3 separate regions of the Homo sapiens genome follow, and regions 2 and 3 are each linked to region 1. The links are contacts of gene promoters, found by promoter capture Hi-C in blood cells and fetal thymus (Javierre and others, 2016). All regions are on one chromosome and are shown on one strand. The core of a region is centred on a gene start or on the middle of the fragment in contact, and the rest is flanking DNA. Distances in the headings are between cores, read along the strand shown.

Region 1 (3,755 bases), core at 239-2,738:
CTTTAAATAATCCATATGTAATATGAAATTAGAAAATCTACCAAGACTAAATATATATACACACACAGAAACATAACTGACGGTGGAAAACTGGTGTCAAGTGAGGCAGAATCAGCTCTGAAAGGGGCAGGTATAACCTTGACTTGTAAAATTGATAATCCTTTGTCCTAGTCTTATTTACGGAAACACCTCTACCAAAGAAAAAAAAAGTCTGGGCGCGATGGTGCACACCTGTAGTCCCAGCATTTTGGGAGGCCGAGATGGGTGGAACACTTGAGCCCAAGAGTTTAAGACCAGTCTGGGCAACAAGGCAAGACCCCATCTCTCTAAAAATAAAAATAATTAGCTGGGTGTGGTGGCGAGCACCTGTAGTCCCAGCTACTCGAGAAGCTGAGGCGGGAGCATCACTTGAGCCCCGGAGGTGACGCCGGCGGTGAGCTGTGATTGCACCACTGCACTCTAGCCTGGGCAACAGAGCAGGACCCCATCAATCAATCAAACAAATATTAAGGCATAAGGAGCATGCCTTTCCCTATCTTCATCTTATCCTTTTAGGATAAGTTCAGCTTCTTTTCTTCGAACATAAACTCCAATAAAGCCTAAAAACCAAACACGAAAATTTCTGGTAGACTATCCCTGTACTGCTGTCTTGAAAACAATCAAGACCAGGTGGTGCTTTCTGGAGAGCTCGCAAATCCCAGCTGTGCAAGTGCGCACAGGTGATTTTCCAAACAAACTCCGGCTCCCAGCCCTCTGCCGCACTCAGCTCCCTTTGCAAGTTCCAGGGCATTCAGTGGGAAGTACCGAGGCCACCGTCAGCTGAACAGTTTGTTTTGAAAAAGCTCTCAGGCCTACCCAGGACCTGCCTTGGGGTAGGGGGGGCGGTGTGGGCGTTCCCTCGGGCCTCGGCTGTCACGCGAACAGTAAATTCCCGGGCACACCAGGTCAGTTGGCCAGCGTAAACACATGAATCCCATCTCATTCAAAGCAAACCCGAAAGGTGTCCAGCGCTCCCAAAATAAAGTCCGCCACTTACACCCCCCATGCACGAAAGACCAGGAATGTGCCCCCCTCTATGAGCGGCCGGGCCTCTGTGGACTGAGCGACCCCAGGCAAGAGGGAGGCCTGGGAGGCAGGGAGCTCACCCGCAAGGGGCTTCCTTCCACCCGACGCCGACACGCCCGCCCTAGCCCCGGGCCAAGGGTGCACGAACCACGCCTCGCCGCACTCAAGGTCCCGGTTGGGCCCTGCTGCGCGGTTAGAACCGGGAAATGGAGGGCTCAGACGCCCCGCGCGAGCAGGCCCAGCCGCGCTTCCCCACCTGCCGCCACCGCCGCTGAGCCGGCCCGTGGGCGCGGCCGCTCTCACCTGCAGGAGCGGGGGCGCGCGGGATCCGCCTTCAAGGTGCCCACGGGCGGTGCGGGTCACGTGCCGCGCAGGTGAGGCTGGCGGGGCGGGCGCCGGCGGAGACCCAGAGCAGAGGGAACAGGCCCCGCCCCCGAACGCCCGCGGGGACCCAGAGCGGAGGGAACAGGCCCCGCCCCCCGAACGCCCGCTGTGACCCAGAGCGGAGGGAGTAGGCCCCGCCCCGCGAAAGCCTGTGGAGACCCAGGGCGGAGGGAACAGGCCCCGCCCCCGGGACCGGCCCCTGAGGCGGCGCATGCGCGCTCTTCCGCCCGGACTGCGAGTTCCTCCCCAGCTTCTGGCTCCTAGGGTCAAGGCGATTTCAGGCTTGGAAAGGGACTTCCGTCGCAAATCTTTCTGTTTTTGCTAAAGCTGCGGTCGCAAGGCCTAGTGATCGCCTGAAACGTCGTTTTAAAGGGGCGTTGCATGGAATGTTCGGCCATCCCTGCTGAAAGTTTTTACCTCTTTCTCCAGTTCTCCACCCTGCACTGTGTACTCCGAGGCCGGTCTCCCAGATTGGCCTTCTCTATTTCGGCCACCCTGGGCGGTCCGTGACTTGGCGTCTTCTGCCCTCGCCTCCTCATTCGGGTTCCCCTAGGGGTCTCTCCCGGGCAGGCTGCCTGCCCCGGGCCCCAGCCCTGCCGTTGGGTGGGTATCCTGAGCTCACTGGAACCCCGGGCGCCTTTTCTTCAGCCTTTCCCAGTGCGTCCCACTGGCTCACGGTAGACTGGTTTCCACGTGTCATTGACTACAAAGTGGCCCTGCCAGTGCTTTTTGAGATAAAAATTATCCAGAAAAAAAAAAGTTCCTGAGCAAATTACCACTTGTTAACTAAATGCACAACATAGTGTGGGACTATGTTCAGATGAAAATCAAAGATACAGAGAGCTTTTATTTTTAATCCATGAGGAAACATTAAAAATATATCAGCCTGTGGAGACCGAAGTTACATTTGAAGAGTAATGACCTAAAATGCTCACATTTAAAGATGAAATTGAGACCGTGGGAAACTATTTGCAATGAAAAAGATTAAGGGGAAAGGGAAGATTAAAAATTAGGATTTTGTGAAGTTCTTGTTAATTTTTTAAAATTAGCGGAGTGCATCATGATTGAGACTTTGAACACCAAATTCCATTCCAAAGTATTGCCAAAACAGTATTTTTCTAAAAACAAGTTTTTGATTGTATAAATAATAGAGCTCTCTGTAGGAAACACAGAATATATAACAGGAAAATAAATAGTCAATAATTACACCCCTCAGAGATCACCCACTCAGAGATAACATTTTCTCTCAGTCTTTCAGAAAAACTAATTTTACAAAAAGTCCTGGAAACTGCCTTTTTAAACAAACTTGTGTCATGAGCTGTTCCCATGTCTAAAATTTCATTAGCTTTTTTTTCTACATAATGGTCTACATATAAACATACCATAAATTATTTAACATTTTCCCTGTTGCTGGATGGTTTCAACAATTTTGATCTTAGTGTAGATAATGCTGGATTAAATATCTTTGTACCTAAATCTTTTTCTTTTAGCCTCAATATATTACCACGTTATGTACATAAATCTTTTTCCATATTTATGAATATGTACTTAGGATAAAAATTGAAATGGAGGCCAGGTGCGGTGGCTCACGCCTGTAATCCCAGCACTTTGGGAGGCCAAGCTGGGTGGATCACCTGAGGTCAGGAGTTCAAGACCAGCCTGGCCAACGTGGTGAAACCCCATCTCTACTAAAAATAGAAAAAAATTAGCCAGGCATGGTGGCACGCACCTGTAATCCCAGCTACTCAGGAGGCTGAGACAGGAGAATCTCTTGAACCCAGGAGGCTGAGGTTGCAGTGGGCAGAGATCTCCCCATTCCACTTCCAGTCTGGGGGATAGAGTGAGACTTTGTCTCACAAAAGAAAAAAAAGGAAATGGAATCACTGGGCATAAAGGTGTAGACAGTTTTAATAAGTATTACCATACTGCTCTTCAGAGAGGTTGTACAGTTTACACTCTCAGCAATATGTAGTTGTGTTTGTCTCTCCACTTTCTTGTCAAACTTGAGGGATACCTTTTTTATCTACACTAATTTGTGTGTGGGTTTTTTTGTTTGTTTGTGAGATGGAGTCTTGCTCTGTCGCCCAGGCTGGAATGCAGTGGCAGGATCTTGGCTCATTGCAACCTCTACCTCCCAGGTTCAAGTGATTCTCGTGCCTCAGACTCCCAAGTAGCTGGGATTACAGGCGCCCGCCACCGCGCCCGGCTGACTTTATGTATTTTTAGTAGAAACAGGGTTTCACCATGTTGGCCAGGCTGGTCTCGAACTCCTGACCTCAAGTTATCCACCCGCCTCAGCCTCTATC
Region 2 (3,836 bases), core at 217-2,716, 610 kb after region 1:
TTAGATCAGGAGACTAAAAGAACCCTGCCAAGAAAATTATCCTTTCTGATCCCTGGACAAATACAATGAAACAAGTTAAATCCAATTAAAAGGCATTTTGTTTGGCTCTGTGTTTCCTCTTAGTTGGCAAGTTGGAGAAGGGCTTTTGTGGCACAGAATTTAAATTTGCCATTAAGTCATATCCAAAAAGCAACTGCTTTACTTTTAGGAGGAAACTGGCTCGCAGAAACAGACTGTCAACTATTCAAAGGCCAGGGAATGATGAAAAGGAAACCCTATCTCTAATTCTCTAATATTTCTCCACAACAGAACTTGACATTCTCAGAATAATTCTTGCATCCTCACTAGGAAATAGAAAGCTAGAAAGAAAAACTTGTGCAGATGGATAATGGAAAGTATGGGAGCAAGCTGCTATAGTGACTTTGAGGCCAAATTTAGCTTAAATGATCTTTAAGAGAAGAAGAAAGCCACTGTAAAGCTAGGGAAATTTGTAAAGAAAGGCAAGGGGAAATAATAGGACTTAGAGGACATAATTATATGCATATCGACATTTGGTGTAATTTAGAGCAACATAATGAAAAATATTTGCTTGGGAGATAGCTAATTACATTTAATGGTTAAAAAAATAAATCTACTCATTCTTTAACTTAGAAATTAGTTGCAATCCAGTCCCTAGACTCAGGGCTAAGTCCATGGTCCGCTCCCCGCAAGGCAATATTAATATACTTATTTTCGGAAGCAACTGAAAAACTCCACTCTTAAAATGCTGAATCATAAATATAAACATCAAAATTTGGTTGCCATGCAAAAATGAAAATAAATAAGAAAATCCACTCAAAATTTTCCCATTTTATTCAAAATCCGTAGGCAAGAAAAAATATATTTTTCCTCCTTCTCCTTCTTTTCTTTTTTAAGGATGGGTGTCTCACTATGTTGCCCAGGCTGAAGTGCAGTGGCTATTCACAGGCGTGATCATTACACACTACAGCCTTGAACTCCTGTGTGCTCAAGTGATCCTGCTGCCTCAGTCTCTCGAGAAGCTGGGACCGCAACCATGCACCACTACGCCTGACCTTTCTTCTTCTTTTAAAACTTAGAATAAGATCAACATTATTAGATCATTTGACTTTTAGCCTGTACAAATCTAATGATTCCTTTCCTCTAGGGTTTCCTTTCCTCTAGGGTTTAGAAGACCATCATAAGAAGTACATATCTATCTGATGAAATCCCAGGTTTATCACAACATGGCTGTGTGACCTCAGACAAGGCACTTTATCTCTCTTAGCCTTACCTGCAAAGTAGAGGCAAATACCATGGACTTGTAAGAATGTCGCTCAAAGTAACTGCACAGTGCCTGGAAGTGAAGAGCTTACTCACTGCCCTTACTAATGTACGACTCTATTTTTACTAAATTGTGCATGTTTAATGCCACATGTGACAAGCACAACAGCAAATCGGTCAAAGTCCCTCTCTAATACTCACCATGATAAGGCTGGTCACAAAGGCTTTCCTCTGAGCCTCCTTTCTTCCAGACATCAGATGCATTTGAGATTGCTGTGCCATGTCCATCCTTCAGAGCCAGCCGGTACCGGGCAGCTCCGTACAGAGAGTGGTGCTCACATTTCCACCACAGCATGGCACTGGAGTCACAGCTGAACATTCTCAGCTCATTTACCGATTTGGTAATATCGAGGCCAAGGCACTTTTGGGAGTGCAAATGAAAGAGCCGATGCTGGGACACCCACTTCCATAACTTGTCCTCAGTTTCATCACAGTCGTCTGCTACTATCCAGCCATACACTGGCTTGATGCACTTGCCCGTATTTCCATGGACGATGGTGAAGGGGTCATTAGCTGAGTCAAATGGACAGACAGATTGTAGATTATGTGGTTGAAGCGCCTTGCTCCCTGCCTGCTGAGGAGAGTCTGAGCACTACTGGACTGTTCCCATCCTCAGTCTGTTCCCACTCTTTTTAAGCTGCAGGGGACTACAAAAGGTGGGACAGTGGTGAGCAGAGAGGCAGTGCAGTGTGTAGGGTCAGAACACGGGCTCTGGAGCCAGTCCGCCTGGGTCCATATTTTGCTCCTGCTACTTGTTAGCCATAGGATCAGGGCAAATCATTTAACCTCTGTGCTCCAGTTTTCATATGATGGTTGTGAGCATGAAAGGAGCTAATCCATGTAAAGCGTGTAGAGTAGCATGTATATTTGTTGTTGCTATTTCATGAAAGATTTTTCCCTTCTCATTTAATAAGACAAAAGAAGCTCTTTAGTTTTCATCTCAATGAAAAGTCTAGTTGGGACCATAATTCTGCCTTGCTTACATGTTAGCTACTACGGCAGGGTAAATTATTACATGAAAAGTCGATGCTTAACACAGCATGTGCACTATATATATGTTCCTTTCTTCAGATCCAAGTACATAGTGAGGCCTCTGTGCTCCTCTGCCTTAGGGCAAGTTAGTGGGGCCACTAAAAAGGAAAACTTAAGGACAATTTTCTTAAAGACCACTTCCCCCTAGATATTTTTTGGAGACCTAAATTCATTGAGGTATCTCAGAGGAAATGGGGAAATTTCTGAGGGAGCAGCAGAACAGTGGGGTACAGAAACAAGAAGAAACAGAGGTCTGGGTTCTGAGGGTAGAACCTGTGGCCAGCTCCACTGTGGCAGTTTCATTGTCCTCAGTTTCATCACAGTCGTCTGCAACTATCCAGCCATACACTGGCTTGTGGCACCCTCAGGAAGGCGACAGGGCCTGGGGAAAGCCTGGGGGGATTGACAGTGTGGATCACCTAAGAAGGCTGAACCCCAAACTCCAGGAACTACCAAAGTGATGGCTGATGAGTCTTGAGCCACCAGATACAAGATCCTGTGGGTTTGGACAATGGAAAACCCAGAGGTAACCAGCGGGATCCAATGACTAAAGAAGAATCCTCCCTGAATGTTCCCCTGGCACTTTGCATGAGCTGGCAAAGACCCCAGTAAGGACAATTATTGAAGTTCTGGCAACCTGGTGGAATGGGAGCTCAGCATCAAATTTAATTTGGATTTCTGAAAATAAAGTAATGCATTGTTTCTTGCACACCTGAGTTTGTGGAATAAGATTCACATCTGTTACAACAAACTATAATCAGATAATTTGGTTAGTTATTTTACAAAGGAAAATTTTAAACAATTACAGCACAAATCATGTTGATAAGAGTAAAGCTGAAATATTTTAGACAAGCTTAAGCAATCACTGTCAGTGAACCAGAGTTCAGCAGAAAGACCTGTAAAATTTTGGTTCCCAAAAGGCACTTTCATTTTGATACCAGCTTCACAGTCACTGGTTTCACTAACACCAGATGCTTTTCCTAGTAATAATTCAAAGGCTTTCAGAGTTAAAAATTCCCATACCAGGGACTGGTGACTTGAGGGGAATTTTACCATGTAAATAATAACTATAAAATTAAGTCTCACTGCAGCTTGAACTTTGGAAGGATTTTTTTGTTTTGTTTTAAATAACAGAAGCAACGACAAGAGAAACAACAACAGCAACAACAATCCTTTAAAGCTTAAAGTTATTTTAAATCTGAATTTTAAAAGTATTCCACAGGATTGCAGCTAAGGATGTTTGCCATAGCAGCTTTCATCCTTCACACTTTTTTTTTTGAGATGGAGTCTTGCTCTGTTGCCCAGGCTGGAGTGCAGTGGCACAATCTCAGCTAACTGCAACCTCCGCCTCCCAGGTTCAAGTGATTCTCATGCCCCAGCCTCCCAAGTAGCTGAGATTACAGGTGCCTGCCACCACACCCGGGTAATTTTTGTATTTTTAGTAGAGATGGGGTTTCACCATG
Region 3 (3,943 bases), core at 1,156-3,655, 650 kb after region 1:
AATGTCCCTCAACTTGGATTTGTCTAATGTTTTTTCATGATTGAGATTATGCATTTTGGGGAGGATACCAAAGAAGTCATGTGCCCTTCTCAATGCCATACCAGGGGGTACATGATGCTGATGTGGCTTATTACTGCTTCTGTTAACCTTGATCCCTTGATTAAAGAAGTTTCTCTACTGTAAAGTTATTACTTTCTCTTTGTAATTAGTGATTATTTTGGGGAAAATACTCTAAGGTTATGCAAATATTCTGTTTTTCCTCAAACATTCACCCACTAACTTTTGCACCAACTGGTAGGTCTTGCCAACAATTATTACTGTTGTGTTTTCCTGATAGTGATTTTTGTTTCTCCCATTTCTTCTACATTTATCAATTGGAATTTACTGGGGAGAAGAACTGTTTCTTCTTTTCATTCATTCATTCACTCATTCAATTGTTTACATCAGTATGGACACACAGATATTTATTGTGTGGGTTATAATCCAATATTATAATTTTTTATTGTTTGCTCAAATTGTTCCAGCATTTCCACTGGAGAGCTCCTTCAGGTTGGTTCCTGTAGCCTTCAGACATGTGCCATCTTTTTGTGAGCACCTCCTTATTTTCTGCCATCACAAGATATTCCAGTTTCATCTTGTATTTTCCTGCCTTAGACCTGCAATCAACCACTTTCTCAAGAAGCCTAAGTTCCTTTGACTGGAGATACTACAACAATTTGAATTCTATCATAATCTATTTAAAAATAGAAATAACCTCTTCAGCAGTCAGAGATATTACTTTCTTTCAATCTTGTATTTCCATTCCAACTCCCCCACAGAATTTTATCCTAATGAGATATACTTTAATTTGTGAAATATTTTATTCATTACCTTGTCATATTTTCCTGCAGTAAAAATATGTATATAAATTAATTTTTTTTTTTTTTTTTTTTTTTTGAGAGAGAGTCTCGCTCTGTCGCCCAGGCTGGAGTGCAGTGGCGCCATCTCGGCTCACTGTAAGCTCCGACTTCCAGGTTCATGCCATTCTCCTGCCTCAGCCTCCCGAGTAGCTGGGAATACAGGCACCCGCCGCAACACACAGCTAATTTTTTTGTATTTTTAGTAGAGACGGGGTTTCACCTTGTTAGCCAGGATGGTCTCGATCTCCTCACCTCGTGATCCACCCGCCTCGGCCTCCCAAAGTTGCTGGGATTACAGGCGTGAGCCACCGCGCCCAGCCTAAAATTATTTTTTAAGAAGTCCCTGTGAACATAGGCTCTAAGTATTACACATTTTCTTCTATATTGAGTTGTCATTTCAATTATTGTTAGTATACAATTGATCAGAACAAAATAAATATGTTACAAAGATTAAGATAGTATATGTCAAACTAAAATGATAGCAAATGGATCTGTTAATGAAATGGATATATCATAGATAAAAATTAATTAGTATTAAAAACTGCTAGTATAAATCAAGGTTCAGCATCAATTCTGTTCTCTCTCTTCTTTTTTTGTAGCTATACATGTTGAGAAACTCTGGTAGCAATTGCTGGTGCTGTCTGTAGTCCCTTATCCTCTCTTTCCTGAGCACACAAAGCAGAAGACTTCCTGGATTTCCTTTCAGTTAGGTTAGGTCATGTGACTAGTTCCAGCCAATGACACGCGAGTGGAAGTGCCACGTGTTTCTTCCTAAACCTGGGAACTTAACAGTTCTCTAGTGCCATAGCAGCACTGGAAGCCCCATGTTCTGGAGGTAGGACACAGCCTGGATCTGTGAGTTACTGCTTGGAGGCAAGTGTCCTGACCATAGCAGGCTTCGCATGATCAATAAATTAACTTCTGAGTTTTGTTTTTAACCACTAGTATTACAGGGTTTGTTTCCACAGCACTCTCTAACTTATCTTAACATAGAAACTTTGTTCATATAAATAAGTAGATGGGAATAAAAGGAGGTTTGTTATAACAATATCCCTCTATTACTTGAATTCCTTTCTCATAGGTGCCAAAAAATCAGTGATTCTACATTAAAAATTATTTTCTATATCAACCAACTGCTTGATTATGTTCTCCTTCAGTTTTTTTTAAAGCATAGAAGTGGAAACACCCTACTTGCAAAGTGATTTGTTACCCAGTCATTAGAATGATTCATGTCAATTTCCTACAAGTAAAATTAAAAGGCTTTACTAAGACTCTTCAAATAACTGTTCATTATGCCTGTTACTCTTTCACTTACAGGCATCTTGCTTTACCTGATATACAAATGAAGGCTGGGAAAAGTAAAATATCACTTCATTATAGTTCAGTCAATACTATTTTTCTATTAAAATGCCTTTACCCTATTACAAGCTTTAATCAGAACACAAGAGCAGCAGATTTAGTTCATTCAATTAATACAAAATGTTCATCATAAAACTTAATGGGTAAAGTCAATCCTTGTTGTCAAACCAATGAGCCAAATAAAAAAAACTTCAGAAAAGGTCTGAATTCATTTTTCAGTTCAAATAAGCTTGTTAATACTCATCCTCACAACTCACATAGAAATCTAAGATAAATCAAGCCTTGGGACTTTCTTCTGGATAACATAAGATGTTAGGTTCTTGGCAACACATGCTTCACTTTGCTTTCACCAGACTTTTTCTACAGCTTGTTCTCTGACAATAGTCAGGCAGTGGATGAGATAAATTTTCAAATGAAAGTAGCACTCCAGCTGTTCCACTGTATAATACATATTAATTCAGAATATGAACATGGGGCAAAATAACTCATTTCTAAGTCATCGCTTCAACTTTAACAGAAAAATGTCCTAACACAGAGAAAGACGTGAGGATCTACAGAATGAGTTTACAATTTCTTTATTAAAAGAAGCTTCACTGACATCAATACTTCGAATATTTTTCTTTGGAGCCATGGAGGATTTTCCCATAGTAAGATCTGAAATGAAAGCCATTTCTTTTTCTTTTTCTTTTTAAAGGTAGAGAAAGGCATTTGTGTAAAGAGAGGTGGGAAAGAAGAACCAGGGGTGCTCTCAGGTAAATCAGTTTTAAGAAAAAATATACATGAAGATTCTGGAAATTAAGTTTCTTAAATACCCATGCTCCTGTATTCCTTAGGCATGTGTCCCCAGTTTGAGGACTTTTGACTTAGAGGATTTCAACAGCCTGTGGAAGCTCCATAATGAATCAAAGATGGGTCTCAAGTCAACATCCTCTGTCAGCCACAGATTGGAGGCCCATGGAGGACTCCAGGCCTTAGGAGACAGAGGGCTGGCTATATAGGAGAAGCATGGACCCATGAATGACTGAACAGAGCAAAGTCCTCTTGCCAGCCCATGCAGGTGTGGGTGAGAAATAAACCTTTGCTGTGTTAATCCACCAAGACTGTGGGATTGTTTGCTATGGCATTTCGCCTTTCTGGACGAAAAGAGTAGCTAATGGTAGCTAATGGGATCTCACCACTGCAGGGGTGAAGTGACTGCCTTGTAGCCAAGAACTGCAGTGTTCGGATAGGGAATTCAACAGGAGACACAGCCAGTTCTCAAGAGATAAGACAGCACCAGGGACAGCCAGAATGAGGCCAAATCAAAGAGAACAGACTACAGATTAAAGCAACTGCAGACTTCACAGCAGATGCCAGCAGAATTCCCAGGAGTGAGGCCAGACAGCTATTCTCAGTGGACACCAGCTAACATACATCCACAGTAAGTTGTCACCTTCTCCCCTCAACACTACCAGGACACAGCAAGTTCTTATATATCCAACCACCATTTTGAGAAGAGTAAAGAAACTCCAAAAGACTGAACGTTTAAGTAAACATTCAGTTCAATCTTATCTTTAATAAGGAGTGGACCCTTCAAGAGAAGAAATATTTAACCCGAAAGAAGACTGTTGTAACTGTAAGAGCCCAATATATTGTTAAATGGAAAAACCCAGGCATTTCCATTACTCAGATTCTATAAAGATCCT

The links. The method cuts DNA at HindIII sites, captures the fragments that hold promoters and counts their contacts. A CHiCAGO score of 5 or more calls a contact.
Region 2: a contact is called between a fragment that was not itself captured here and the fragment with the promoter of WDSUB1 in region 1, in 1 of 17 cell types (neutrophils). The highest score is 6.8, in neutrophils.
Region 3: a contact is called between a fragment that was not itself captured here and the fragment with the promoter of WDSUB1 in region 1, in 1 of 17 cell types (total B cells). The highest score is 5.0, in total B cells.

What each region holds. Positions count from the first base shown.
Region 1 is chr2:159,285,215-159,288,969 of GRCh38, forward strand. WDSUB1 (WD repeat, sterile alpha motif and U-box domain containing 1) reads right to left here and starts at 1,489. Exons shown (of 11, transcript NM_001128212.3): 1 at 1,369-1,489. RefSeq lists silencers at 1,323-1,762, 1,449-1,618. The HindIII fragment of the contact is 12,257 bases long and covers 1-3,755 here.
Region 2 is chr2:159,897,206-159,901,041 of GRCh38, forward strand. LY75-CD302 (LY75-CD302 readthrough) reads right to left here. Exons shown (of 38, transcript NM_001198760.1): 2 at 1,483-1,854. LY75 (lymphocyte antigen 75) reads right to left here. Exons shown (of 35, transcript NM_002349.4): 2 at 1,483-1,854. Among named protein-coding and RNA genes, the nearest start is that of LY75, 5.6 kb to the right of the region's middle. The HindIII fragment of the contact is 3,516 bases long and covers 1-3,224 here.
Region 3 is chr2:159,935,034-159,938,976 of GRCh38, forward strand. PLA2R1 (phospholipase A2 receptor 1) reads right to left here. Exons shown (of 30, transcript NM_007366.5): 30 at 1-3,943. Among named protein-coding and RNA genes, the nearest start is that of LY75-CD302, 32 kb to the left of the region's middle. The HindIII fragment of the contact is 160 bases long and covers 2,326-2,485 here.